Regions from separate parts of the Homo sapiens genome. Here region 2 is linked to region 1. The links are contacts of gene promoters, found by promoter capture Hi-C in blood cells and fetal thymus (Javierre and others, 2016). All regions are on one chromosome and are shown on one strand. The core of a region is centred on a gene start or on the middle of the fragment in contact, and the rest is flanking DNA. Distances in the headings are between cores, read along the strand shown.

Evidence for each region. The method cuts DNA at HindIII sites, captures the fragments that hold promoters and counts their contacts. A CHiCAGO score of 5 or more calls a contact.
Region 2: a fragment that was not itself captured here is called in contact with the fragment with the promoter of SMIM15 in region 1 in 2 of 17 cell types (neutrophils and M2 macrophages); the score reaches 5.4 in neutrophils.

Annotation. Positions count from the first base shown.
Region 1 is chr5:61,159,821-61,166,552 of GRCh38, reverse strand. SMIM15 (small integral membrane protein 15) reads left to right here and starts at 4,085. Exons shown (of 3, transcript NM_001048249.4): 1 at 4,085-4,336; 2 at 5,326-5,465; 3 at 6,354-6,732. The coding sequence starts at 6,382. The coding sequence ends at 6,606. SMIM15-AS1 (SMIM15 antisense RNA 1) reads right to left here and starts at 4,237. Exons shown (of 4, transcript NR_109908.1): 1 at 4,027-4,237. RefSeq lists enhancers at 3,397-3,456, 3,497-3,596, 4,127-4,386, 4,457-4,536, 4,022-4,918 and a silencer at 3,837-3,946. The HindIII fragment of the contact is 8,836 bases long and covers 1-6,732 here.
Region 2 is chr5:61,269,064-61,275,795 of GRCh38, reverse strand. No RefSeq gene overlaps it. Among named protein-coding and RNA genes, the nearest start is that of LINC02057, 7.5 kb to the right of the region's middle. The HindIII fragment of the contact is 5,737 bases long and covers 352-6,088 here.

The sequences.
Region 1 (6,732 bases), core at 2,836-5,335:
GGCTCAGGCCTGTAATCCCAGCACTTTGGGAGGCTGAGGCGGGCAAATCACCCGACATCAGGAGTTTGAGACCAGCCTGTCCAATATGGTAAAAACCCATCCCTACAAAAAATACAAAAATTAGCTGGGCATGATGGTGCACGCCTGTAGTCCCAACTACTCGGGAGGCTGAGGCAGGAGAATCACTTGAACCTGGGAGGTGGAGGCTGCAGTGAGCTGAGATCGCACTACTGCACTCTAGCCTGGGCAAGAGAGCGAGACTCTGCCTCAAAATAAATAAATAAATAAAAATAAATAAATATTACATAAATGTGCCTATTAAGAAATGTTTTGCATTATGTTTCAATGGAAGTAAAAAACCTCACAAAATAAAATTTAGGGAAGAAACCAATTCCATCAAAGTAAGATGCAGGTAAGAGAACTCTCAAAGTCTTTTAGACACACTCAATTGTTATTATTAAACTATATTATTATCTTAATATTATCTGAATCTTATTCTGGTTTCACTACTTACAACTTTGACATGGGTTAGAATGAGATATAATTTTGCACCAATCAAGGGAAAAATACTTTTTAAGAAAAAAAATGGCATGGGACTGCCACAGGACTTCCATTCTCAATAGACAAAAGAATTTTATAAGGCTCTACTTATAAAATATAATTGCAATAGAGTACACTAGTGCTGAAGAGGCTGGTGGTGTGATATACTACACAGGAATTATCTTATGCAAAGGCAGGCCCTATTTCATTAACAGCATCAGGTTTAGTTAGTTTGGCTAAACTTACATGAATAATATTTTATTTCTTAAAAGTAAATAAAGCAGACCTTATTTCCTTGTTATTCTAAATTCGTATTCTGACAGACATTTGAGAGAATAAAAACCTGATTAAGGATCTTTTCAAACAAAGAAATAAGATCTTGTCCTGGAACAGTGGCTCACACCTGTAGTGCCAGCACTTTGAAAGACAAAGGCAGGAGGATCACTTCAGGCAAGGAGTTTGGGACCAGCCTGGGCAACAGAGTGAAACCCTGCCTCTAGAAAAAAATTTTTAAAAATTAGTTGGGCATAGTGGCATGCATCTGTAGTCCCAGCTACTCTAGAGGCTGAGGTGGGAGGATCGCTTGAGCCCAGGCAGTCAAGGCTGCAGTGAGCAGTGATGGACCCACTGCACCCCAGCGTGGGTGACTTAGTGAGACCCTGTCTCAAAAAAAAAAAAAAAAAAAATCACTGAAACTCATTCTCTCTAGTTGGGCTTGACTTAGAACTGAATACATTAAGCAGAAAATTAACACTGGTCATAGGTTTAAAAAATAATGAGTATGCTAAGCTGGGCATGGTGGCTTGTGGCTGTAGTCCCAGCTATTCAGAAGGTGAGGAGTGAGGATCCCTTGAGCCCAGGAGTTCGAAGAGGCAGTGGGCTATGATCGCACCACTGCATTCCAGCTGGGCCAGAGCAAGACCGTGTTTAAAAAAAAAAAAAAAAAAAAAGGCCAGGCGCGGTGGTGGCTCACGCCTGTAATCCCAGCACTTTGGGAGGCCGAGGCGGGTGGATCACGAGGTCAAGAAATCGAGACCATCCTGGCCAAATGGTGAAACCCCATCTATACTAAAAATACAAAAATTAGCTGGGCGTGGTGATGCCCGCCTGTAGTCCCAAGTACTCAGAAGGCTGAGGCAGGAGAATCGCTTGAACCTGGGAGGTGGAGGGTGCAGTGAGCCAAGATCGCAGCACTGCACTCCAGCCCTGGTGACAGAGACTCCGTCTCAAAATTAAAAAAAAAAAAAAAAAAAAAGACCTTAAGAAAACTTGCAATAATGTTTCTATCAAATACCTTACTATGCTATTTATTTAAGAAAAATGACCAAATCCAGTCCAATTTACAGATTTTAAAGCTGAAAGGGCATTGGAGATTGCCTAGTATGCTTTCCACATATCTAAGTGGAAACACACTCAGAGTGATTTATCAGAGTATACATAACATTACTGTACCACAACTGTGAATCTCAGTTCACGAGCTCAGACTTCTCTTTATGGAAAGTAGTTCACAGTATTTGAATCAATCCTGACACCACCTTTAGTTAAGGCAATGCAGACTGCAGTAAGGAGCTCCACTGTGGCAACCCCTATGCTGTTCCTGGTCTTGCAGACTGTCCTGTAACTTGAAGCTAGATGAGCAAACTTAGATTGTAAAGGCATGGTCTAGATCAGCAGTCTCCAACCTTAATGGCATCCAGGACTGGTTTCGTGGAAAACAATTTTTCCATGGACGGGGATGGGGGATGCTTTCAGGATGAAGCTGTTCCACCTCAGATCATCAGGCATTAGATTATCATAAGGAGCGCACAACCTAGATCCCTCGCACATGCAGTTCACATTACGGTTCGCACCATGAGAATCTAATGATGCTGCTGATCTGACAGGAGGCGGAACTTAGACGGAAATGCTCACTCACCCATCGCTCACCTCCTGCTGTGCGGCCCCGTTCCTAACAGGCTGCAAACCAGGTACCAGTCCGTCGTTGGGGACCCCTGGTCTAGATTACAGCTAAAGAACTACAAAGGCTTTCTCTTTATATGCCCTTCCTTCCTGCCCAAGACTTCTGGGCTTTTAACTAGGGATGCAGCACTGCAAGTATCCGGAGGCAGTAACTGGGAAAACCACCTATCATGATTAAAATAAAACACGCATTGGCCTCTGGAACGAAGGATGTTAAAATAATACATTCTGCCCACATCTTGGATTCAAGACTTGGGGAAGTTTTAGAAAAATCAGTTATCTCAAGTAAGTATTCAGTGCACACAATCCAGTGACTGAGTCTACTTTTTCTGGCTACTAAGGTACAGGCTAGGCCTAAGCAGCATAGGCTTTGAAACTATCATCCAGGTTTTCAAATAAAAAGGAGTAAGAAAACAACTGCTGGTAATACAACATTACAAACATTAACATATGCCCAACGAACAGTATCGTAGATCGTTAGATTATCTGCCAAAAGCCTGTTCCCTGGTAAATAACAGTTATTGTTGTTTTACCTAAACTAGTTAAACATGTCGCAGCTTGCTCCTGAAAGAGAACATTCTATAGTCTTTGGAGAATCAGTGAAGAGGTCTTGCAACATTTGTCAGAGGTAGTCAAACAGTGCAAGCAATCACAAAATTTGGTCACCAACCAAACCAGATTAGCTAATCTTTCAGTTCCTGTAGATTAGAAGACAATATTAACTCACCCTTTCTGCATGTTGACTTTTGCATCCCTTTATTTGTGTATTGAAAGAACAAGCACCTCTATGGGAACTCTATGCCCTGACAGTTTAATTACTTATCAAGTTTACTCTGGGCCGGTATTGATCATTCTTTCGTGAAACGAATTAGATACTTAAATTAAAAACAAACAACAAAACCCCCCTTTTCACATAGCATGGCGGCATGTCCCTTGGTAACAAGGTTGAGTGGATCCACCAAGGCCCAGTAGCTTGCCTCCTTTTCGTAAGGATGTAACTATTGTCCAACCAGAAGAGAGAGGCATGGAGTGGGATGTGCACCAGGATGAACTCGCCGGAATCGTCAAGAGTCGTTGTGTGACCCTCACCTTGACTTCGGGCGTTTTGTGGGGACCCAACTGCTTTCTTGCCGCTGCTCTTTGGTCTGAGTTTCCCTCAGCCAAACACTTCACCCACCCATGACCCTCCAACTGTCCCGCTACAGCAGGGGATGGGGGTTGTCTTCCGATCGACCTCGGGGGGCAAAGGCAAAAGTCCCTAGCTGCTTCGGAACCGCTCCTCGAGTCCTGAAGCCGCTCCACGCCTCCTCGCCCACCACTTGGTCCCCGCAGGACGTGGCAGTCTCGGGCTCCAGCCTGGAAAGGAGCCCGCCCGGGTGCCGTCACCCGCCCCGCGCGGCCTCACCTGCCGCTCCCCGGAAATCTCAGCGCTGCCCTGCCCCCGCCCCCACCCTCCCGCGTCCTCCAACTCGAGGTCCCAAGACCCACACAGCAATGGCGCAGCCGGAAACTGGGCCCTAGACTTACTCACGCCCGGCTGGCGGCTCGGGTCGCCTGTGGGCGGGACGCAAAGGCCGCGACTTCCGCCTTCCTGCTTCCGGTCTGGCGGTGAGTGGGGAGTGGGATCCGATCCCGTGGGGCTATGTAGGGGAAGTTGGTGGCTGCAGCTGCCGTGGTTTTCTCCTGGTGTCCAGCAGAAACGGCGGCGGCGCAAGGTGTGGCTGGGCCAACCCAGGATCTCCCAGGACCCTCCGCTCTGCGCGACAAGGGGCCCGCGCTTGCCAAGGCCGACGGGCAGGAGTGAACGTGGCCTCCGTGGGTCTGCAGCCCCGATAGGGTAAGGAGGGAAGAGTGAGCAAGGGAGAAACGTAAGGAATAAGGGAAAGACAAAGGAGGAAGTGCGGACGGCCGTCAAGTGCTACCCGTTGCAGCCGCAGGGGCCACGCGGGTCTGGTTGGGAGATCGAGCCTGGTCGATCCGTTTTGGGCGGAAGAGTAGGATTTATTCCTGAAAGTGTGGAGGCGCGAGCGTTTGGGTCCGAAGTTGAGTTGCAGGGAGATGTGTGGCCTGTGGACCATGGCTCTTTTACTGCAAAGTTCTTTTGCTTATTTCTGAAACTTACATTGTTTATTCGCTACTGGGCTGGAGAAGGTGAAGGCAGATCGATCTCAGTAGTACCTAATTCTAACTGTATGGGTGAGGTCGTATGAAGTCCAGGAGCTAAGATATTTAACGTATTAGGCACTTTCATGTGTGTTCAGTTGAAAATCGTGGGGAAGATATAATTAAAACTAGTCACAGTTTTCTTGGGGTAATGGGACTGTGGGTGAATTACTATAATTTGTTTGGTTATGTCTTCTAATTTTTTAAGTAAAGGACACAAATTGTATGATGGACCCAAAAAAACCTTTATAAAGAGTAAGATGAGCTGTTTGATTTTGTAGTGGTGTACCTAATCCAGTAAATAAATGAGTGGCAACATTTTTAGTATAAAAATTGAAAATCTAGGAACGGATACGCTGTGTAAGTCAGTCAGTGAGCCAACTTGTCTCCCGTATGTCAATGAACTAAAAAAATTTTATTATTGAAATAAGTAACTTAGTAAAATACTTGATTTCCAGTAATTAGGATTTTCTTACAGGGCATTTGCAATTGTAAATTCAAATGAGGAAGAAACGTATTAAGTTACTATACCGGATAGGCAATTTTAGATGTCATATAGGTTGCATATATACAATATAGAAATTTTCCATTTAAAATTTTATTACAATTATCCTGAAATTGTGACTTAAATTTTGTTTTATTTTTTGTATTCTTTCCAACTAGCCAATTGTACAGAATTTAAACCGTCTCTCAGATGTGTACAGTAGAACTCAAGAAGACAGACTACCAAGGGTCATCTGAAGTCGTGATTGGGTCACTAATAACACCAGGACAAAGTTAAGGGATCACTACTCAAGCATAAGGTAGATGATTTTTTTAAAAAAATTCCAGTTGAAATTGTAAGTGGATGTATATACACTCATTCCCTACCCAGGTATTCTAATTCTCCACTTTGAATAGCGGTTGACACAAACATGAAAGGGAGAAAAGCCTCTGGGGCAAAATAGAAAACGTCACTCAAGTCACATAATCCTCATTTGCCAGTTGCCTTTTCCTTACACTCAAAAAGGAACAAAACACATGGCATCTGTTAAGGCTACTTTCTCATTTATTAAATTAGGCTTATTCCAACAGAGGTCCTCAAAGCTGAAAGGGCATAAAATAGCACAGTACTTTTTGCTTCTTTGGCATATTAATGCGATGTCATGACTCCCTTACCCTCTCCTTCCCATTCGGGGAAATAGTCATCTCTCCTTCTCTGCGAGCATTTCACATGCTCTGTTGCTTGTCCTTTTCAAACACCAAATTTGCTGATTTGTATTTTTGTTAATTAGTAATACTAAGGATATGTCAAAAAATGACAAACTGTATTCAGCTGTTTCCTGGAATGACCACAGAAAACTCAAGATTTTTATAAAAGCCTCCTCCTAAATAAAGTTTGTCTTGAATATAGGAGGCATGTGAGAATGCATAGTCCTTATGACAGAGTCACATGGCTTTTTTAAATCTTCTATAACTTTACCTCTTTGAAGTGTCACTATTCTGGCTGTACTAGATGAATTACTTTTTCCTAACCAGAGATACTAGTCCTTATTACAATAGTACTAAGTTGTACTTTTTAAAAAAGCAAACTGAGTGATAATGGAATCCTGAGTTAACTGGTTGTGTGAGGAAACTTTTTCAAAATTTGATTAACCACATAGTCTTTTCTCCTGTTTTTTTCCTCTGTGTTCTCCACCCGCCTCCCCCAGCCCCAGTTTTCATAAGACTGCTGTGAAGATGTTTGATATAAAGGCTTGGGCTGAGTATGTTGTGGAATGGGCTGCAAAGGACCCCTATGGCTTCCTTACAACCGTTATTTTGGCCCTTACTCCACTGTTCCTAGCAAGTGCTGTACTGTCTTGGAAATTGGCCAAGATGATTGAGGCCAGGGAGAAGGAGCAAAAGAAGAAGCAAAAACGCCAAGAAAACATTGCAAAAGCTAAACGACTAAAAAAGGATTGAAGGACTGAACAGGCTTTGCAACCAGAGGAAAATCATTTGGAAAATTACACAGCTTTGGAAGAATCCACTAAAGTTTCTTCTTTGGATTTCTTGACAGTATGATTTAGTAAATGAAATTTGACCAAA
Region 2 (6,732 bases), core at 1,971-4,470, 110 kb before region 1:
CAAATTTTGCAAGTGTTTTCAGCAGGAAGGTGTTATGATCAGAGTTTATTTGAAAGTGATAACTGCAGGAAAATGGATTCAATGGAGGCAAGAAAGGGAGCAAGGAAATAATAAGAAATAACAGTAGCTGGTGTGTACAGAGCATGCTACTTTGGGCCACGTACTGGTCTGTGACCTTTATACACATCGCCTCCTTCAGTCCTCACACAGCCCTGTGGGCCAGGGACTATCATCCCTCTCCTTTTAACAAAGAGGAGATTGAGACACAGAATCACTGGACCAGCGTTGGTTGGCTTGTAAGTGCTAGAACCAAGCTGAGACCCTGGTAGTCCCTGGCTAGAGCCTGAAGCTTAGTTACTACATCCCAGGGGCTCCTTCCTGCCCACAGGCTGGGCAGCAGACAGTAGGGGCTTGCATCAGGGTGGTGGCATGGACAGACCCATAATAATGGAAAGAACTGACAACACCCAGACCAGCAGTACGGGAGGGGAGAGTGAGAGCCAGGTAGGAGAGAGGGGAGGGAGAGCCAGGTAGCGGAGAGAGGAAGGAGAGCCAGGTGGGGGTGCAGCTCAGGGGCTGAAGCGTCTGGGAGGGGCTGGGTTTGAGGTGGCACACATATCCAAGAGCATGGAGGCTTCTGTACAGCCCTAGAGCTAAGGAAAAGAAAACAGATTTGATAATCCAGTGTGGGCACCCTTATTTTCTTTCTTTCTTTTACTAGGAATTCCAGGAGATCAGCTAAGAACTGCCTGCTTTGGTTCTCTTCTTTAAAAAACCAGACCTATGCCAGTTTTGTTCCTGCTTTATTTATTTGTTCAGCTTGATGTTTAATTTTTTTAGTTTCTAAAGGTTTTACTTTCACTGTGAGTGCACTGCTAAAAATTCTGTCTGAAGACTGCTTGGATTCACATGCTCATTGATTCTCCCTCCACCCATTTCAGAATTAACCTGAGCAAATAGCCATGTTTTCTAGTTCCCAAATTCCTCCACTTCTGCCAACTGACATTCTTAAATCTGACATTGGTCAGCCTTGACCCTTGGAATGTATGTATCATTTTATTTCAACAATGCACTTTAGATGTCTACATGTTAAAATTTCTTAAGCAATACAGGCTGTACTTTGTCAATAGCTGCTACAAAAATACATTTTAAAATACCCAGTTGCTACATTCTTGCCTAGAGATAATTTACTGGAAAACTTGCTGAAGAACAATCTTCTCATAGATTTCTATTAGTAATCTAATAGTTCAAACTACTGGACTACAAAGGCCTATTTGGCAAACCCATTCTCTGACACAATGACGTGGACATGCACACACACACAGTTTTTAAAGGGAAGATGAAGGCATGCATTATTGCAAACATGTTTTAAATTCTACAATATATCACCAGAGGGAGAACCCTAACAAGTTAGTCAGAATTAGAATTATAACTATGTAGAGTACCTTTGGCTGAGCTATTTTCCCTTGGTGATTCCACAAAGGCAGCAAGGCTCTGTGTATGTTTCTTTGTTAAAATACACTGTGAAATGGGGGTTGGTCGTGCATTCATCAGTTCATACAATGATTATTTGGCATTTACTATGTGCCAGAGTGGTGTATCAGGAGGGCTATGCTCCTTTTTTTTTTTTTTTCTAATACAGGTTCTATCTCTGCTGCCTAGGCTGGAGTATAGTGGCACAATCTGGGTTCATTGCAACCTCCACCTCCCAGGCTCAAGTGATCCTCCCACCTCAGCCTCCCAAGTAGCTGGGACTTCAGGTGCAGACCATCATGCTTGGCTAACTTTTTGCATTCTTTGTAGACACAGGTTTTCTCCATGTTCCCCAGACTGGTTTTGAATTCCTGAGCTCAAGTGATCTGCCCACCTCAGCCTCCCAAAGCGCTGGGGATTACAGGTGTGAGCCATAGCACCCAGCCATAAGCTCCATTTTAAACTTAATCTTGTGGAAGAATCAGAACTAAAGAAGCAATTCATTACAGGGCAATGATAGTTATGAAAGAGGAAGCACAAGATGCTATGGGAGAAACATCTAACCCAGGGTGAAGCTCATCAAACCAGGGTTTCTGGAGGAAGACAGATGAAAGCTGAGACATGAAAAATGAAGAAAACCTATCCAGGAGAAGAGAAAAGAAAAGAGCTTTCTAGGCAGAAGGATCATTGCATTCTGAGATTCAGAGTATGGAAGAATATAGAGTATTTAAAGAATGAAAGCAGTAAGGCTGGATCTTAGAATGCAAAAGATGGTTGGTGAATAAGATGAGGTCATGCAGGGTCTTGTAACCATGTTAAGGAACTTGGGATTTATCCTGAGGGTAGAGGAAGCCATTGAAAGGGTCAAAGCAAAGAGTGTAGAGAATTGATGGGGGAGGGGAAGGCTGGAGGCAGAGAGATCAGCTGTTGTAAAGACACAGAGAAACTGGTGGCAAGGACTAGGATAGTAGCTGAGAAGGCAGATTCAAATGACAATTGGAAGGCTGGCTATAGAGAGCAGGGGAAGGGGAAGATGAGAGAAAGACTCCCAACTCTTTGGCTTGGATGACAACACCATTCACTGAAAGAGAGAACACAGGTGCTGAGGCTGATGTGTCTATGGGGCGTCTAAAGCAGATGACCAGTGTAGAGTGAGTTAGTTGATGAATCTGCACTAAAAATATAGATGTGGTAACTGAAGCTAGTTAAAGGAGTGGAAGAGAGTGTTCAAGAAGAGGTGTCCAGTGATTTTATAATAGTAATATGCAGGTCACATGTGATTTTGGAGATGTAAGATGGGTGGGGATGGAGTCAGAAGCCAGACTGCAGAATGAGCAAAGGAAGAGGAGCAAATAATAGGCAATGTAGACAACTCTTTCGAGAAGATTAACCACAAAAGGGACTAAAGAGTCCAGGAGCAGCAGCGACAGGTGGTTTAGGAACTGGGAGACTGGTGAATTTGAATATCAATGAAAAAATCCAGAATAAAGAGAGGGGCTGAGGGTTCACCAAAGAGGGACAAAGTCCTGCTATGGATGGCATCCAGGGACTGGGAGAAGAAAATAAAGTGGAAAGGATGGATGTGGTGCAGTTAGAGTACAGTCTTGGCTGTGCACTGAGTTGAAGATGTTCTCACTGATGTTTTCATTTTCTATGTCAATGCAAAGCAAGATAATCTGTCAGGAATGAGAGGGAGAGGCCAGGTTCAGTGGCTTCTGCCTATAATCCCAGCACTTTTGGAGGCTGAGACGGGTGGATCTCTTGAGCTCAGGAGTTCAAGACCAGCCTGGGCATGTGGTGAAACCCCATCTCTGGTGGTACATGCCTGTAGTCTCAGCTACTCATGAGGCTGAGGCAAGAGGATTGTTTGAGACCAGGATATCAAGGCTGCAGTAAACAGTGATCACACATCACTGCTCTCCAGCCTGGGCAACAGAGGGAGAACTTGTCTCAAAAAAAAAAAAAAAAAAAAGAATGAAGGGGAGGCCAGGTGCAGTGGCTCACGCCTGTAATCTCAGCACTGTAGGAGGCTGAAGCTGGAGGATTGCTTGAGACCAGGAGTTTGAGACCAAATTGGACTAAATAGTGAGACCTCGACTCCATGAAAAATTTAAAAAATTATCTGGGCATGGTGGCACACATCTGAAGTCCTAGCTACTCTGGAGTTTGAGGTGGGAGGATTGCTTAAGCCCAGGAGGTCAAGGCTGCAGTGAGCTACAATCATGTCCCTGCACTCTAGCCTGGGTGATAGAGTAAGATGACCCTGTCTCCAAAAAAAAAAAAAAAAAAAAAAAAAGAGAGAGAAGAAAAGAGACTAAGGGAGAAGTTTGTAGGACAGGATAGAGGGATAGAAGAGAATGGAGAAAGTTTTCTTTAAAAAAAAAGTAGTATATTTTTAATTAAAATAGAAATACATACCTATGGTTTAAAAAAAATCCAGAAGAGTATAGTGAAATGTAAGTCTGTGCTCCACCCTAGCGGCCCAGCCCTCCAGCCCTCTCTCTGGAGGCAACCACCATGGCCTGTTGGTTCTTGTATCTTCTTTCAGAGATATTTTATGCCCTGCTCTGACCCACTCCTTTTCACTTAATATCATGTCTTGGAGATAGTGCCACATGAGCACAAATAAATCTACTCCATTATGAACCATGCTTTCTTTAACTGGTTCTTTGTGCATACTTTTGGGCTCACAGGTAAGAGTGTATACATAGGAAAAATATGTAGCCTTGAAATTTCCCTCTGAAGAGACTGTAGCTATTTACATTGTGTTATGCTCCTCCTGATCATAAACAATGCAAAGTATTAGTAAATATCTTTTTTATTTTACTCAGCCTGACAAGTAGAAAATGAAATCTTATTTTGCTTTGGGTTTTTTAAATTGAGAGGAAGAGAATTTTAAAAATATTTACTGGCCAATTTTGTCTCCTTGTGTGTGTGTGTGTGTGTGTGTGTGTGTGTGTGTGTGTGTGAACTGCCTGCTCATGTCCCGGCCCGTTTTTCTTTTGGGTCATTGGTCTTTTTCCTATTGATTTTTAAAAATGGAGAAGATTGAAGTGGATAAGAGGAAAAGGTTGAAGAGTGCTGGGCCTCCAGGGCACCCACCAGGGTCCCCCATTTCTGCAGAGGAGCTGCAGACAGAGCCCTGTAGGTTCTTTTTGAATTGAACATCTCTTAGTTGAACTGATGTCTGCAGCCTTGGCCTGTGATTTCTTTCTCCAAGAGGTTTACAGCTCCATGAGGCCTGCAAGGCAGAAGGGGAAGGAAGGAAATCCCCATTCTCGGAGTCTGCATTGTTGGCCTGTGAGACGGTGGGGAGAAGCCTGTGGAGGAGCAGGTATCTGGATAGAAACAGTCCCTGGCAGTGGGTGAAGCTCCCTGAAGCTCTGAGTCAGCTCAGACCTCAACACCTGGCTGCCCTGGGGAAGGGATTTCAGAGCCTCCTTGCTGGATCTTGGTGTTTACTTGTGGGCACAAGTGTCCTCTACTTGATCTACATGGTGTGGCCTTCCAGACCTCGAGTGGACCAGCCCATCTCTGGTCTACTCTATTTGGTCATTCTGGATGCAGTTCTTGATGCCTACCTGCCCCAAGCTGGGCACCTTCTCACACGGACTGTCACCACTGGGATCGCCCCCTGCCAGCCACTCTCCTGGTCCGCACCTAACCCTGGGCCAAAGGGCCAGAGGGCCGGAGGGTGAGGAAGCAGGGTGGGGCTGCAGCATCCTTGTTCTCAGCAGGTAACTGGCTCCCACCTGTGGCATTTCCCACAGTTCCACAGAGAAGGTTCAGGGCCTGGAAGCCATGTTATACCCTAAACTCCTCAATAGGAAGCCAAGAAAGTACCTTATCTCAGGGCAGAACTTGGAGCTTCTGTTACATATGAAATGTCAAAGAGATGTGAGCTGTTTTGTAAATGATCTTATCACAACATACAAATCATACAGTTAAAAATGACCTAAGAAGTGAAAGGACAGAAACACATTTCAAGCATTTATTAGCACAGGAGACATGCCAGGTGCACGTGACATTTGGCCCTTACCATACCTGATAAGTAGTGACCATTATTATCCCCACTTTGCAGATGACAAAAGGGAGGCTTGGGTCATTTAAGTAACTTTCTTTAAATTACAGGGCTAGAAAGTGGCAAGGCAGGCATTGGAACCTAGCACTGTCTAAGGCTATCACTCTATGCATCCATGTACCCACTGCATGAATGTAGCTGTGGCTAAAGAAGATCTTACAGACTCAGCAAGTAGCTTCATGTTTCTTGATACTTTGAAGATTCGTCTTTTCCTGAAAAAGAGGCCTGTCTAGGAGTTCTAGACAAAAACAGACCCACCTTGCCTTATTAAGCAGGGCCCTTACCTTAGACCAGCTGAGCGACTCTTTTGTCTATGGAGTTTCCATGGGTGGGTGATGGCTTAAACTACAGAAATCATTATTGAAGGAGGCATTAACATTACCACTCCTGATACTCAAATGCATTGGTCCATCTAGCATTTTCCAACTAAACTTTCATAACCACTGCTTTTAGATTCCACTGGCTTAATTTTTTTTAAATTTCTTGTCCCCACCTCCTACCCAACTCCTTCATTTTTGAGTGGAGGCTTAAGCTTGGAATCTGGCATCCGTGGAGGTTTGACATTGACAGGTACTGGGGTACAGACCCAAAACTAAAGTTCAGAGAGGCAGATTATTTTATTTTTCAGCTGCCTTGATGGCTGAAGGTGGTAAACATATCACTATGTCACAGCTGAAAAGGAAATTGAACACAAAGAGAAAAATGACACACCCAATAACCCACTATTTACAACATTCAAACATTCAAAAACCATGGACTGTGGCAAGTTTTTTTTTAACCTTGTTTTTTTCATAAAGATTAATAAGAGGTCTAACTGAATTCTTTCTTTCTTTCTTTCTTTTCTCTTTCTTTCTTTTCTTTCTTCTTTCTCTTTTTCTTTCTTCTTTCTTTCTTTCTCTCCTTCTTTCTTTCTTTCTCTTTCTCTCTCTCTCTCTCTGTCTCTCTCTCTCTCTCTGTCTCTCCCTCCCTTCCTTCCTTCTTTCTATTTTAACTTGTATTGTTTAGGTAGATGCTGACATTAAAGTACTATCTTTCTTTACAACATAAACTATTTCCTGAGACATTTATAGAGTGAACCACGTGGAAATGAGAATATACTTCTACTGATAAAAATTACTGTAGTCTATTAACTTCTCCAAAACATCAGCAATTTTGTAAAATTGTTTCATATCTATTTT